Linked DNA regions of Homo sapiens: region 1 is linked to region 2. The links are contacts of gene promoters, found by promoter capture Hi-C in human tissues and cell types (Jung and others, 2019). All regions are on one chromosome and are shown on one strand. The core of a region is centred on a gene start or on the middle of the fragment in contact, and the rest is flanking DNA. Distances in the headings are between cores, read along the strand shown. Region 1 overlaps CBFB (core-binding factor subunit beta). Region 2 holds the start of HSF4 (heat shock transcription factor 4).

Evidence for each region. Contacts are between HindIII fragments. The study calls those that stand out against the background at their distance.
Region 1: a contact is called between a fragment that was not itself captured here and the fragment with the promoter of HSF4 in region 2, in 6 of the 25 tissues and cell types used here (H1 embryonic stem cells, IMR-90 fibroblasts, dorsolateral prefrontal cortex and 3 more).

What each region holds. Positions count from the first base shown.
Region 1 is chr16:67,100,512-67,106,374 of GRCh38, reverse strand. It overlaps CBFB (core-binding factor subunit beta), which reads right to left. Exons shown (of 6, transcript NM_022845.3): 6 at 5,317-5,863. Among named protein-coding and RNA genes, the nearest start is that of PHAF1, 6.5 kb to the left of the region's middle. The HindIII fragment of the contact is 4,683 bases long and covers 1,463-5,863 here.
Region 2 is chr16:67,159,914-67,166,190 of GRCh38, reverse strand. HSF4 (heat shock transcription factor 4) reads right to left here and starts at 1,446. Exons shown (of 13, transcript NM_001374675.1): 1 at 1,257-1,446; 2 at 561-669; 3 at 345-472; 4 at 121-245. The coding sequence starts at 1,379. It overlaps FBXL8 (F-box and leucine rich repeat protein 8), which reads right to left and starts at 6,234. Exons shown (of 3, transcript NM_018378.3): 1 at 6,135-6,234; 2 at 4,254-4,456; 3 at 2,017-3,343. The coding sequence starts at 4,405. The coding sequence ends at 2,371. RefSeq lists silencers at 1,342-1,581, 1,331-1,625, 2,607-2,726, 5,004-5,093, 6,114-6,253 and enhancers at 1,823-2,771, 3,077-3,176, 2,772-3,720, 3,794-4,306. The HindIII fragment of the contact is 14,459 bases long and covers 1-5,935 here.

The DNA of each region.
Region 1 (5,863 bases), core at 2,555-5,054, 62 kb after region 2:
GACAAGTTAATTAGCCTCTCCATGCCTTAGTTTCTTCTGTAAAATCTGTAACAATCTCACAGATTTGTTAGGAGGTCTGTACTTGTGTGTCTGGCTTACAGGTAATTGCTTTGTGTATAACTAAAATTTTAAAACATCTAATAGTAACAGAATTGATGGAATCCACTGGCAGGATTTACAGATTGCATGTGGGAGATGAGAGAGACTGGGAGTCAAGAATAACGACATAGTTTTCCCAGCTTGGGTAGCTGGAAGGACGGTGATTGGAGGAACTGACATTGGCGTTTGGAAGGATGTCAATCCTTCTGGTAAAACTGTCACGTGATAACTTGGAAGGGAAGAAATGTAACAAGCTTGAAACATTACTTGAAGAACTTGGAAAACAATCTTAGTACCATGGTTATTTATTAATTGCATTTGCCAAGTTATTTTTTTTTCTTTTTTTTTTTTGAGACGGAGTCTCACTCTGTTGCCCAGGCTGGAGTGCAGTGGTGAGATCTCGGCTCACTGCAACCTCCGCCTCCCAGGTTCAAGCGATTCTCCTGCTTCAGCCTCCCCAGTAGCTAGGATTACAGGCACGTGCCACCATGCCCAGCTAATTTTTGTATTTTTAGTAGAGACGAGGTTTCACCATGTTGGCCAGGCTGGTCTTGAACTCCTGTCTTTAGGTGATCCACCTGCCTCAGCCTCCTAAAGTGCTGGGATTACAGGTGTGAGCCACCGCGCCCAGTTAGATTTTTTTTTTTAAAGCCAGTTTGAAAGCAGGAATGACAGGTAATGTGTACAGCAAATGAGGGATGGGGCTAAAAGTCATGGAAAATGGTGGAGCAGGGAACCCATCCTAATAGGCCTTACAAAGAACACTCCCCTCTGTTAGGGCAGAGGGCCCTCAAATGGTTTCCAGTGTCATTTCATAATTGTTACTGACCGGTGACTTCATTCTTCCCCTTTCTGAAGGCAAGTGCTTCCTGCAATTTTTCTGTCCCTGTCCCACCACTGTGTACTGGGTGCGTAGATCCTGGTCTCCACACACAATTTTAGCTCAATTGCCTGACTAGCAGGCACTTTTAGGTTTTCTTCCATGATGTGTATTTTCTTGAAGGAAGGAAAGTAAAATAATTGAAACAGTGGCCTGTTGTAGTCATCAGAGCAATTCACAAATATTCTGACTCCTGGGCAAAAAGGGTTGCATTTCCCTGCGCAACTGAAGTTGGGTGTGGCTGTGAATTGCTTGGTCCATTGAAAACAGAAGTCACGTGTATCAATTTCAGGTGAGTTTTCAAAGCCAATGCCTGTTTCATTACCTGTTTTCTTTCTTGGTTCTGTCACAATGGCTGGCAGTCCTCCAGTTCTGCTTTGTTAGCCTAGGTCAACCCCTGATGAGTATTTAGCATATAAGACATAAATCTTTAAGCCAATAAATTTTTTTGGTGTTTTAAAGCAACACACCAGCCCAGGCGTGGTGGCTCACGCCTGTAATCCCTACACTTTGGGAGGCCGATGCGGGTGGATCACCTGAGGTTAGGAGTTCAAGACCAGCCTGGTCAACATGATGAAACCCCATCTCTACTAAAAATACAAAAAATTAGCGGGCACCTGTCATCCCAGCTACTCGGGAGGCTGAGACACGACAGTTGCTTGAACCCAGGAGGCGGACGTTGCAGTGAGGAGAGATTGAACCACTGCACTCCAGTCTGGGCAACAGAATGAGACTCCATCTCAAAAAACAAACAAACAAAACAAAGCAACATAACCAGCCTATCCTGACTGATAAGAGAAATTGGGAAAACTGTCAATTATGCCTCCTGTACTGTTTATAGCTTTGAAATGTCTCCATGCCAACAAAGCTACCCTTAATCTTCCTGTGTTACTATATCGTATGATCAGTGGGACCAAGTTTCTGACTCCAGTCTTATTCTCCCCAAACAAAATTGAGTTTTCTCAAGCACCGATTCCATCAAGGTCATAAGCCCTCAATGGCTTCCTGTTCACCCTTGGGAATGGTCCAAATGTTTTATTTAACACGGTTGGAAAGGCCAGTCCAGCACTGCTTGTGACTCTTACCCTGCCCTCTGCTGGGTGGAATCTGCCCTTCTGGATTCATCTCACTGCTGCAGCCCCCTCTTTTCTGTTCCAGTCATACTCAGCTGCTCTTAGCTTCTCAAACTTGCCAAGCTATTGGCTAGCTACCTGCAATACCTTCTCTAGCTAGCTTAAGGTCTGCCATCCTTCAGATCTTAGCTCAAACATCTCTTTTTTTATTTTTGAGACGGAGTTTCACTCTTTCGCCCAGGCTGGAGTGCAGTGGTGCAATCTCGGCTCGCTGCAAGCTCCGCCTGCTGGGTGCATGCCATTCTCTTGCCTCAGCCTCCCAAGTAGCTGGGACTACAGGCGCCCGCCACCACGCCCAGCTAATTTTTTGTATTTTTTAGTAGAGACGGGGTTTCACCATGTTAGCCAGGATGGTCTTGATCTCCTGACCTTGTGATCCACCCGCCTCGGCCTCCCAAAGTGCTGGGATTACAGGCGTGAGCCACCGCACCCACCCTCAAAACATCTCTTTAGGGAAGCTTTTATTCACCACCCAGACTAGAATAGATGTACTATAAGAGCCAGTACTTCTAATGTAACTTAAACAGTGTTACTGCCTTTGGTCAGCTTTTTAGCTAGACTGTAGATTCCTTGTGAGCAGGGAACATGTTTATTTTGGACACTGGATATTTCCCCCCCTAAATGATAACCATACTTTTAGTCTCCAAAAAAAAAATAGAACTTCAACATTTTCCATTTTTATTTTTATAGGTAATATCTTGCTCTGGTGGCCCAGGATGGAGTGCGGTGGCAAGATCATAGCTCACTGCAACCTCAAAATCCTCGGCTCATGCGATCTTCCCACTCCAGCCTCCCAAGTAGCTGGGACTTAGAGGTGTGCACCACCATGCCTGGCTAATTAAGAAAAATATTTTTGTGCAGATGAAGGTCTTGCTATCTTGCCCAGGCTGGTCTTGAGCTCCTGGCCTCAAGCAATCCTCCTGCCTCAGCCCCCCAAAGTGCTGGGATTACAGATATGAGCTACTGTGCCTGGCCTTTTATTTTTATCTACAACATCTCCTCAACATTTCTGAAATCTGAATGAGGCCAATAACGACCTTAATTCTAAGTTGCTTAAATTTTCTAACCAAAAGCTGGGAGTTGACTAAAACAGTGACTTATCTGTTTCAGAATATTCCATATTTAAACAAACTAAACTGCCATTTCCATCCATGATTTCACCCTGTGACTGTCATTTTTTAGCTTTGGAACATTTCTGAAATGCCATATATGAATATATGATGGTGATGCAAGAAAAGGGGTTGATGCTATCTAGGGGGAATCATGTATTCAAATCTGCAAGACTGAAATCTTACCTTTAAAGAATGTTTAGATTAAAACACCAAAGGTATCTTTTTTTTTTGAGATGGAGTCTCGCCCTGTTGCCCAGGCTGGAGTGCAGTGGTGCGATCTTGGCTCACTGCAAGCTCCACCTCCTGGGTTCGCACCATTCTCCTGCCTCAGCCTCCCGAGTAGCTGGGACTACAGGCGCCCGCCACCACACCCGTCTAATTTTTTGTATTTTTAGTAGAGACGGGGTTTCACCGTTAACCAGGATGGTCTCGATCTCCTGACCTCATGATCTGCCTGCCTCGGCCTCCCAAAGTGCTGGGATTACAGGTGTGAGCCACCGCGCCCGGCAAAACACCAAAGGTATCTTATACTCAGTTACGTATATTTGGTAATATCACCATGGTGGTTTAGAAAGATGTCCACAAATGCTTTGACATCCCCGCCTTCAACAGATGAAGCTTAATATTCCTCCCCCTTTGAGTGTGGACCAGACCCAGTGACTTGATTCTAACATACAATATGGCAGCCCAAGATTCAGTTCTAAGACTGTGCTTTTGGCTGGGCATGGTGGCTCACACCTGTAATCTCAGCACTTTGGGATGCCGAGGCGGACGAATCACTTGAGGTCAGGAATTTGAGACCAGCCTGGCCAACATGGTGAAACCCCGTCTCTATGAAAAATACAAAAATTAGCCGGGCATGTTGATGGGCACCTGTAATCCCAGCTACGTGGGAGGCTGAGGCAGGAGAATCGCTTGAACCCGGGAGGGGGAGGTTGCAGTGAGCTGAGATTGCAGCACTGCAGTCCAGTCAGTCTAGGCAACAGAGCGAGACTCCATCTCAAAAAAAAAAAAAAAAAAAAAAAAAAAAAGACTGTGCTTTCAACTTGGGTGTGCGCTCTCTTGGATCACTTGCCTTGGGGGAAGCCAGCTACCCTGCTGTGCACTGTCCTATGGAAAGACCCAGCTGGGCATGAAATGGAAGCAGGTCTCTGTCCAACATCTAGCAAGGAACATCTGCCTTTCATCTAGCAAGCTGCAAAGAACCGAGGCCAGTCAGTGACCACATTAGTGGGTTTGAAAGGGGATCTTTCATCCAGTCAATCCTTGAGATGACTGTAGCCCAGGATGACTCTAACCTTATGAGGAACTCTGAACCAGAACCATTGATCTTAGCTACTTCCAGATTTGTGACTCACCTGTGGGATAATACGTATTTATTGTTTTAAGCTGCTAAGTTTTGGGGTAATGTGTTATGGATAATACAATGGTTTATAGATTGAAAAGCTCCTCATTGCCAAATGAGGCATAAATCAAGTAAGATATTTTTCACCAAGCAGCCCCGAGCTAGCATATCCAATTATGTTTCTAGAAGTGATATACTTACTAAAACCATGCTGTTACTGCTCAATTTTTTGAAATTAACTCTCAGAGCATGAATCCTACTCTTTGGAATTTCCCTTAATGGTGTCAATTCAGAATTTAAAGGCATTTTTGTCATTTGCAGTAAGTCTTGTGGTTAATGAGTGAATCTGTTTATCATGTGTCAAGCTTAAGGCATACTTTCAAGGAAAAGGGCTTACTTTTCTGTTGTAGGAAAATGCCAGGAGTCTTAAGAATGTTTGATATAACACCAGCACAATCAAAACGGCTGTATATTTCCAAAACAACTAGCTTGAAAGATGGAACTAATTTGGATGTGTAATTTAAAATTCTTTCTCCCAACATCACTACTTTATGGTCATATCTCACAGGATGGGTAAATCAAGCCAGATTTCTTGAAAACCATAATATACACTGGGGGATTTGTATACCTTGTGATACCTATATTTAAAGTAGTCTTCTTTGGAATCAACAGAAATTACCACTAGATGCCACTGTTGTTGCTTTCTTAGAAATTACTGGGTTAGGTCAAGAAAGAGCCAAGACCCTGTTTTTACTACACAGAAGTTTATTGTGAAAGTAAATTAAACAAACAAACACACAGTATGGCCAATGGTGGCAAAAGCAATCTGGTAGCTTAAGGCAAGTTTTAATGGAGATGAATTTAGAAAAGATGATGCAATGATGTAATTTTGTTTAAATATAGATTATGAAAAAATATCAAATTGCATCAATAACTTAATAGAAGTAGTTTTCAAAGCCTGTACTACTGGAGAAAAAGGGCTCATGATCTTAATGCCAGCATTAAGACAGACAGAAGCAGCATGGTGCTAAATGACAGAAAAATCCAGTATTTACATTAGGATGGTAACAGGAACATTTAAGAGCATTTGATCTTATTTACTGGTGGACCGAAAGCCCTTAGCTAGACAATAGAGGAAAATGTACCATCATCATGTTATTTAAAAAAATTTAAGTGCAGAAGTAAAAAACCAAGGAGCTCTGTAATAAAGTAACATAAAACACCACTGTAAGGATCACTTAAAAAGCGATTCCCTCAGGGGAAATTAGGGCACTGAGTGTGTAAACATGTGAGC
Region 2 (6,277 bases), core at 197-2,696:
CTAGATGGAGGCGCCAAGGCAGGAGAGAGGAAGGGGCTGCCCAGAACTGCTGGCCGGCCAGTTATGGTCTCATCCCGAACCCCCCACCCCTGTCCCCTCTTTCCCCGCCCGCCCCCGCACTGCCTGAGCTCCCGCAGCCGCGCCTCGGTGCTCTCCTGCACTCCCCGCAAAGCCTGCACCTCGCCCAGTAGTCGACCCAGGTCCTCCGGGCGCCAGCGGCCGTCGTCGCCGCGCAGCGCGGGCACCTGCAGGCGGGAGGCACCGTCGGGACTGGGTCGCAGGAGCAAGGCAGGCAGTCCCAGCACCCCTCCTCCTCTTTGCTCATTCCCGCAGGCCGCCCCCACCTTGCGCCGCACGCGCTCCAGTAGCTGCTCGCGGCCGCGCACGAAGCTCGGGTGCTGGAACTCGACGTGGTCGCGCTCCGGCCTAAGCAGGCCGCCCTGCTCGATGCTCACCACCTTCCGAAAACCGTCTGGGGAGTGGGGCGTGGGGGCGTGGGTCGCCCCATCCCCGGCACCGAGTCCCCCATCCCCGCTCCCCGCCCGGCCGTAGGGACTCACACATGTTGAGTTGGCGCACGAAGCTCGCCATGTTGCTATGCTTGAAATACTGGGGCAGCACTTCCTTGGCGAAACGGCTCTGGTCGCTTACGAGGAAACTGGTCCCGCTCTACCAAGAACGCCGCCCGCCCACCGTGCGGGCGGAGACCAGGAGGGTGAGCGGTGCCCGCTCACGGCCAGTCCTGCGCTCCAGCGCGCGCACACACTCATGCTCACTCTTGGGTCCAGGCCTGCCGCTTACGGGGATATGGGTCGAGGCCAGGCCAGAACGGGCTCCGAGGCCTAGCCTGGAGCGACCACAGTGAGTCCCTACCCCCAGCCAGACCCTGACTCCATACTCAGTTCTCAGAAAGGAGAGGCTGACGGGGTTCCCAGCCCCGCAATGTGACCCTGAGCTAGACCAGCCCTTCCCATCTCCCGGCCTCTGTTTTCCCATCTGTCGGATGGGGTAGGGTGGGAACTAAATGGCCTCGAAGGTCCCTCGGACTCTAGGTCTTCAGAAGGCAGGCTCCTAACCCTTCTTCGGCCGCAGAGGAAACCCCCCTCTCGCACACCCCCTCCAAGGTGAACTTCTCTGAATGGCCAAATCCGGGGATCCACGGCCCAGTCTCAGGAGGGGGTTGGGCGGGCATGGGTGTTCACTGACGTGGAGGGACCCCGGGACCACAGGGGGAATCGAGGGGCCCCGGCCCTCACCGGGCTCCAGCGGATCAGGTGGTCTGTGCCTGGGTCCCCCACCAGCGCCCATAGCTTGCCGAGGAAGGCAGGCACGGGGCTGGGGCCTGGCTCCGTGGGCAGCGCAGCTGGCGCTTCCTGCATGGTGCAGTCTCGGCCCGGCTCTGCGCTCGGGCCCGGCCGCTGCGGGCTCGTCAAAGCCGCGGAAAGTGCTGCGTTTGCCGCCCGCTCCGCCCTACTCCGCCCCGGGGCGCCGGGTCAGGCGGGGGCCACGTGCAAGCCCGCGGGGCGGGGCTCGGACAGCGGCCGAGGCACCAGCAGGCAGAAAAGGCTGGCTGGATGGGATGTGTGGAGTGGAGTGGAGTGGAGGGGTGGGGTGGGGTGGAGTGGGGTGGGGTGGGGTGAGATGAGTGGGAGACTTGGGTTCGAGTCCCACCCCTCTCGGTCCCTCTATTTCCTTCTTTGTTCTACAGGAGAAATCGCCGGTGCGCGACCTGGTGTGGGCTGGGCAAGTCCTAGAAGGTAATGGCCAGAGGCACAGTGAAGCCCCAGGCAGGGCAAGCAGATAGGAAGGGGGGGCAGGGAAGCACGCCCCCTCCCGCCGAACCCCGGGACGTAGTCATTCCAAGGGTGTGAGTGCCCCGACCCTGACCCCCCGCAGCTGTGTCGTCCAGAGGCTCTTGAGGAAACCCAACCTCTGCCGGGATGGCTCCTCCGGTACCCCGCGCGTTCCCTGTCCTTCCCTTTCAGATCCGACCCCGCCTTTAATAGGACGCAGAAACACTGCAGGATTTGTTTATTTCACACTCACCCTTGAGGCCCGGCCCGCGCCCGTGCCCTCCCTCTCCCTGCGCCGGGGCCGCGGAGCTGCAGAGTCCGCAGAGGGGTGGAGGCAAGAGAGGGGGGCAGTGTGTCCAGGACCGAGCGGGTGGGGCGTCTGCAGAGGGTGAGAGCAGCGAGTGGTCTCAGGGCGCCCAGGACTGGTCCCGATGCCATCACAGTTCCCAACTCGGTAAAGACCCGGGGGGCAACAATCCCAAAAGAAGGCACTAGCACTCGGGGCGCGCCTGGACACCCCCCCCGTTCCCTCTCAGAGCGCTTACGTCCACGGGGACGGGGGAGAGAAGTCGCCCAATCACGCCACGAGCGTAGGCCTCCAGGGATGCGGCTCGCGCGTGAGCTTGAGGGTATAGGTGCGCAGGCGCGGGCAGTGCGCGCGGAAGGCGTCCAGCACCGAGTGGCTCACCACGCAGAAACAATGCACCTCGCGCAGGGCCGCGCAGCGCGCCGCCAGCTCCTCCAGCGCGGCGTTCAGCTCGGCCGAAGCGGCTGCGCGCACCTCGAGCGCGCACAGGGTTGCGGCGTAGTGGTGTGCTGCGAAGCGCACTGGGCCTACGGTGTCGCCTGAGAGGTTGAGGCGCAGCGCAGCCACGGGGACGGCTGGCTGCAGGACGCGCGTCACGCTCTCAGCGGGCAGCGCGGGCTCCAGCTCCAGCTCCACTGCCAGCCCAGGGTGGCGGCGGCGCAACGCGACCCAGGCTTCGTTGGGCAGCGGGGACGCGCGTGCATCTTCGGGGCACGCGCACCGCAGAGCCAAGAGCGCGAAAGGCGCTCGGTCTGGCGCCGCCAGTGCTTCGAGGATGGCGTGCGACAAACTGGCTAGGTGCAGGCCGAGAGCGCGCAGGCGCGGGCAGGCCTCCAGTAGCTCGAGCACTGAGCCGGGACCCACGCTGCCCACTAGGGTACTGTTGTCCAGAAAAAGGCTGTGGAGCTCGGGACAGCTGCGCGCCGCCTGCAGCACCAGCGCGTCGTCCAGTGTGAAGGACAAGCGCCGCAGGTCGAGGTGGCGTAGCTGGCTGGCCGCCCCGCATACAGCGTGCACAGCCTCCAGGACGTCGCGGCCCGCGTCGAAGAGCGGTTTTTCTCCGCGGCACTCCAGGCGCAGGCCTCGCAGCCCCGGGGCACGGCCCGCCAGAACCATCAGCAGCTCGATGGCCGCCCGGCGGCTCGGCTTCCTCGATGGCTCAAATTCCAGCCGTAGGTTGTGAATGTGGTCGAGGCAGGCGGACAGATAAGGTGGCAGCATGCCTTCCAGCTCACATTCGCAACTTGGGTTAGAGCCGTGCAGAAAAGGCCTCAGCTGAGTCCCTGCGACCAGCGGAGAAGCCTCTACCCACCCCTTAGCTGGGGTTCCAGCTGCCATCCCATTTCCTGCCTCCCTCCCCACGTCTCTGTTCAGACCACGACTGTTGCCCCAAAGGAGGGAACTCGCATCCTATCCTTTTAGAAGATTTCAGTGGCGTCTGCCACAGGATGAAACCTGGACATGGAGAGCCAATGATATTTTAGGAACTGGGCTTTCTCAGCTGTCTCTAAGGAGTCTTGGCATGGCCTCCGGACTGCTAGGTTCGAATTCTGCCTCTGCCATTCCCTAGCTGAGTGACCCGTGGGAAGTGATTAAGTCTCTTTGCCTCAGTTTCCTATCTGGGCAATGGAGGTAATGATAATACCTATCTACCACACAAGGTTTTCATAAGGATTAAATTAGTTAATATATGTAAGGCACTTAAAAACAATGGTTGGTATATACTAGGCAGTCAATACGTCAGCAATTATTATTATTATTTTGAGATAAACTGTTACTCTGTCGCCAAGCTGGAGTGCAGTGGTGCCATCTCGGCTCACTGCAACCTTTGCCTCCCGGGTTCAAGCGATTCTTGTGCCTCAGCCTCCCGAGTAGCTAGAATTATAGGCGCCCACCACCATGCCCGGCTAGTTTTTGTATTTTAGTAGAGACGGGGTTTCAGCATGGTGGCCAGGCTGGTCTCAAACTCCTGACCTCAGGTGATCCACCCGCCTCGGCCTGCCAAAGTGCTGGGATTACAGGCATGAGCCACCACGCCCGGCCAGCAATTATTTTTTAATATGGGGGAGTCAACCTGAATATCTACCTAGCCCACGACTCCACGGAGAAGGTGAGTGGGCGGTGGGGAGAGGAGTGTGGAGGAGCAGGCTCACCTGATTTTTGTGTCGTGCCACACGGCGCTGCAGGTAGCAGCGGCGGCCCAGGCCCTGCAGACCCTGGCGGCGGCAGCACGGTCTCTCAGGGACAGGTGGCGGAAGATGAGTGCCAGCACCTCCTCTGGCAGTCCCTCTCCAGGCTCGGCCATGGCCCAGATCCGGCTGGGGTGGGAGGATCCGCCACTCCCAATAGCTCCGGCCTGGAGAGAGACGGACGTCTCTGAGGTCGGGAAGGCGCAAAGTGTTGCAGGAAGACCGAGCTTAGGTGTACAAATGCTTGTGGCCTGAGGAACTGAGGGCCTCTCAGACAGCGTGGGGCATCAGATAACCCCGAAACTTGTTCACAAAGCAGATTTCACCGCCTCACCTACTAAATCAGGCTCTCCGGAAAGGGTAAGGCCCAGGAATCTGCATTTCAACAAGCCCCTGTGACTCCACAGGTTCCACGTTGAGAACTCCCCTCCCACTTTTTTTTTTTTTTTTCTTTTTTTTTGAGACAGGGTCTCGCTCTTTACCCAGGCTGGAGTGCAGTGGCGCAATCACAACTCACTGCACCCTCAGTCTCCCGGGCTCAAGCAATCCTCCCACCTCAGCCTCCCGAGTAGCTGGGACTACAGGGGCACGCCACCACGCCTGGCTAATTTTTGTAATTTTGTTGCAGAGACGAGGTCTCGCTTTGTTGCCCAGACTGACCTCGAACTCCTAGGCTCAAGCGATCGGCCCGCCTGGGCCTCCCAAAGTGCTGGGATTACGGGCATGAGCCACCGCGCCCGGCCTGAGAAACCCCATCTTAACCCCGCCGGTTAGTAGAAAGTGACTACAGGGTTAATAAGGCGGGAGCGTTAATGTAGGCTTTTCTTTGTCAGGGACCATGAGCCAATCAGGAAGCGAGGCGTGGGCGGGGCAAAGCTGGATCCACCCCTGGAGGGGAGGCTCCTTCCCCGCCTCCGCCTCGCCGGGGAGATGTCCCGGGTGCTTCCTAAGACAGCCCCACTGGATGAAAAAAAACTTGGGTCTCTGGGACCTGACGGTTCTGGGGCCTGAGGGGCTCAAGATTTAAGTTCCGACCCCTGAGCAGCCCTGGCTCCCGCTGAGCAATTTGGGTTCGGCTGGAACTCCGCAGACCCACCCTGGAGCGCAGCCTTTAGAGGGGGATGGGTTACTGGAAAGTGTGCGTCCTCTTTGAAGTTGCCAATCCTGTTTGTTTTTGTTTTGTTTTGTTTTGAGACGGAATCTAGCTGTGTCGCCCAGGCTGGAGTGCAGTGGCGAGATCTCGGCTCACTGCAAACTCCGCCTCGCGGGTTCAAGCGATTCTTCTGCCTCAGCCTCCCGAGTAGCTGGGACTCCAGGCGCGCGCCACCTCGCCGGGCTAATTTTTGTATTTTTAGTAGAGACGGGGTTTCACCATATTGGCCAGGCTGGTCTCAAACTCCTGACCTCAGGTGATCCACCTGCCTCGGCCTTCCAAAGTGCTGGGATTACAGGCGTGAGCCACCGCGCCCGGCCGCCAATCTTGTTTTAAGGTTCTTAAAGGTTTGTGTACACAAGGCTTCACACTACTCGCCAGTTAATGTTCCCATATCTTCCGGGCTAACAGTTTCTCCCGGAATTTGTGCCACGTGTTTCCTGGGGCTTCAGATACGTTCGGCCGGGCTTGTACCTGGGACCCATGGGCACCCCGTTTTGAGTGCCCACTGGTAGCAGCGATCTTGAAGCCGGATCCCCAGGGGTACCAGAAAATTCTGGTCTCCAGGGGGCGCCCCCTTGATTTACCGAAGTCTGGCAGCTGTAGCTCTTACGAGCCCCCCGCCTCGTAAGAATCGCAAACCCCCAAAGTCGGGTCTTCCTGCCGTCTAACCTTGGGCGCTGGTGTCTTACCTGCTCGGCGGACCAGATGGGCTTTGCCCGGGGCAGGGGACTGGCAGCAGAGGACAGCGGACGGGAAGCAGCCACCGGGAGCCCGCGGGGCGGGACGCGCGGGCGGACGGGGCGGCTCGGGCTAGGGCACCGCCCCAGCGCCT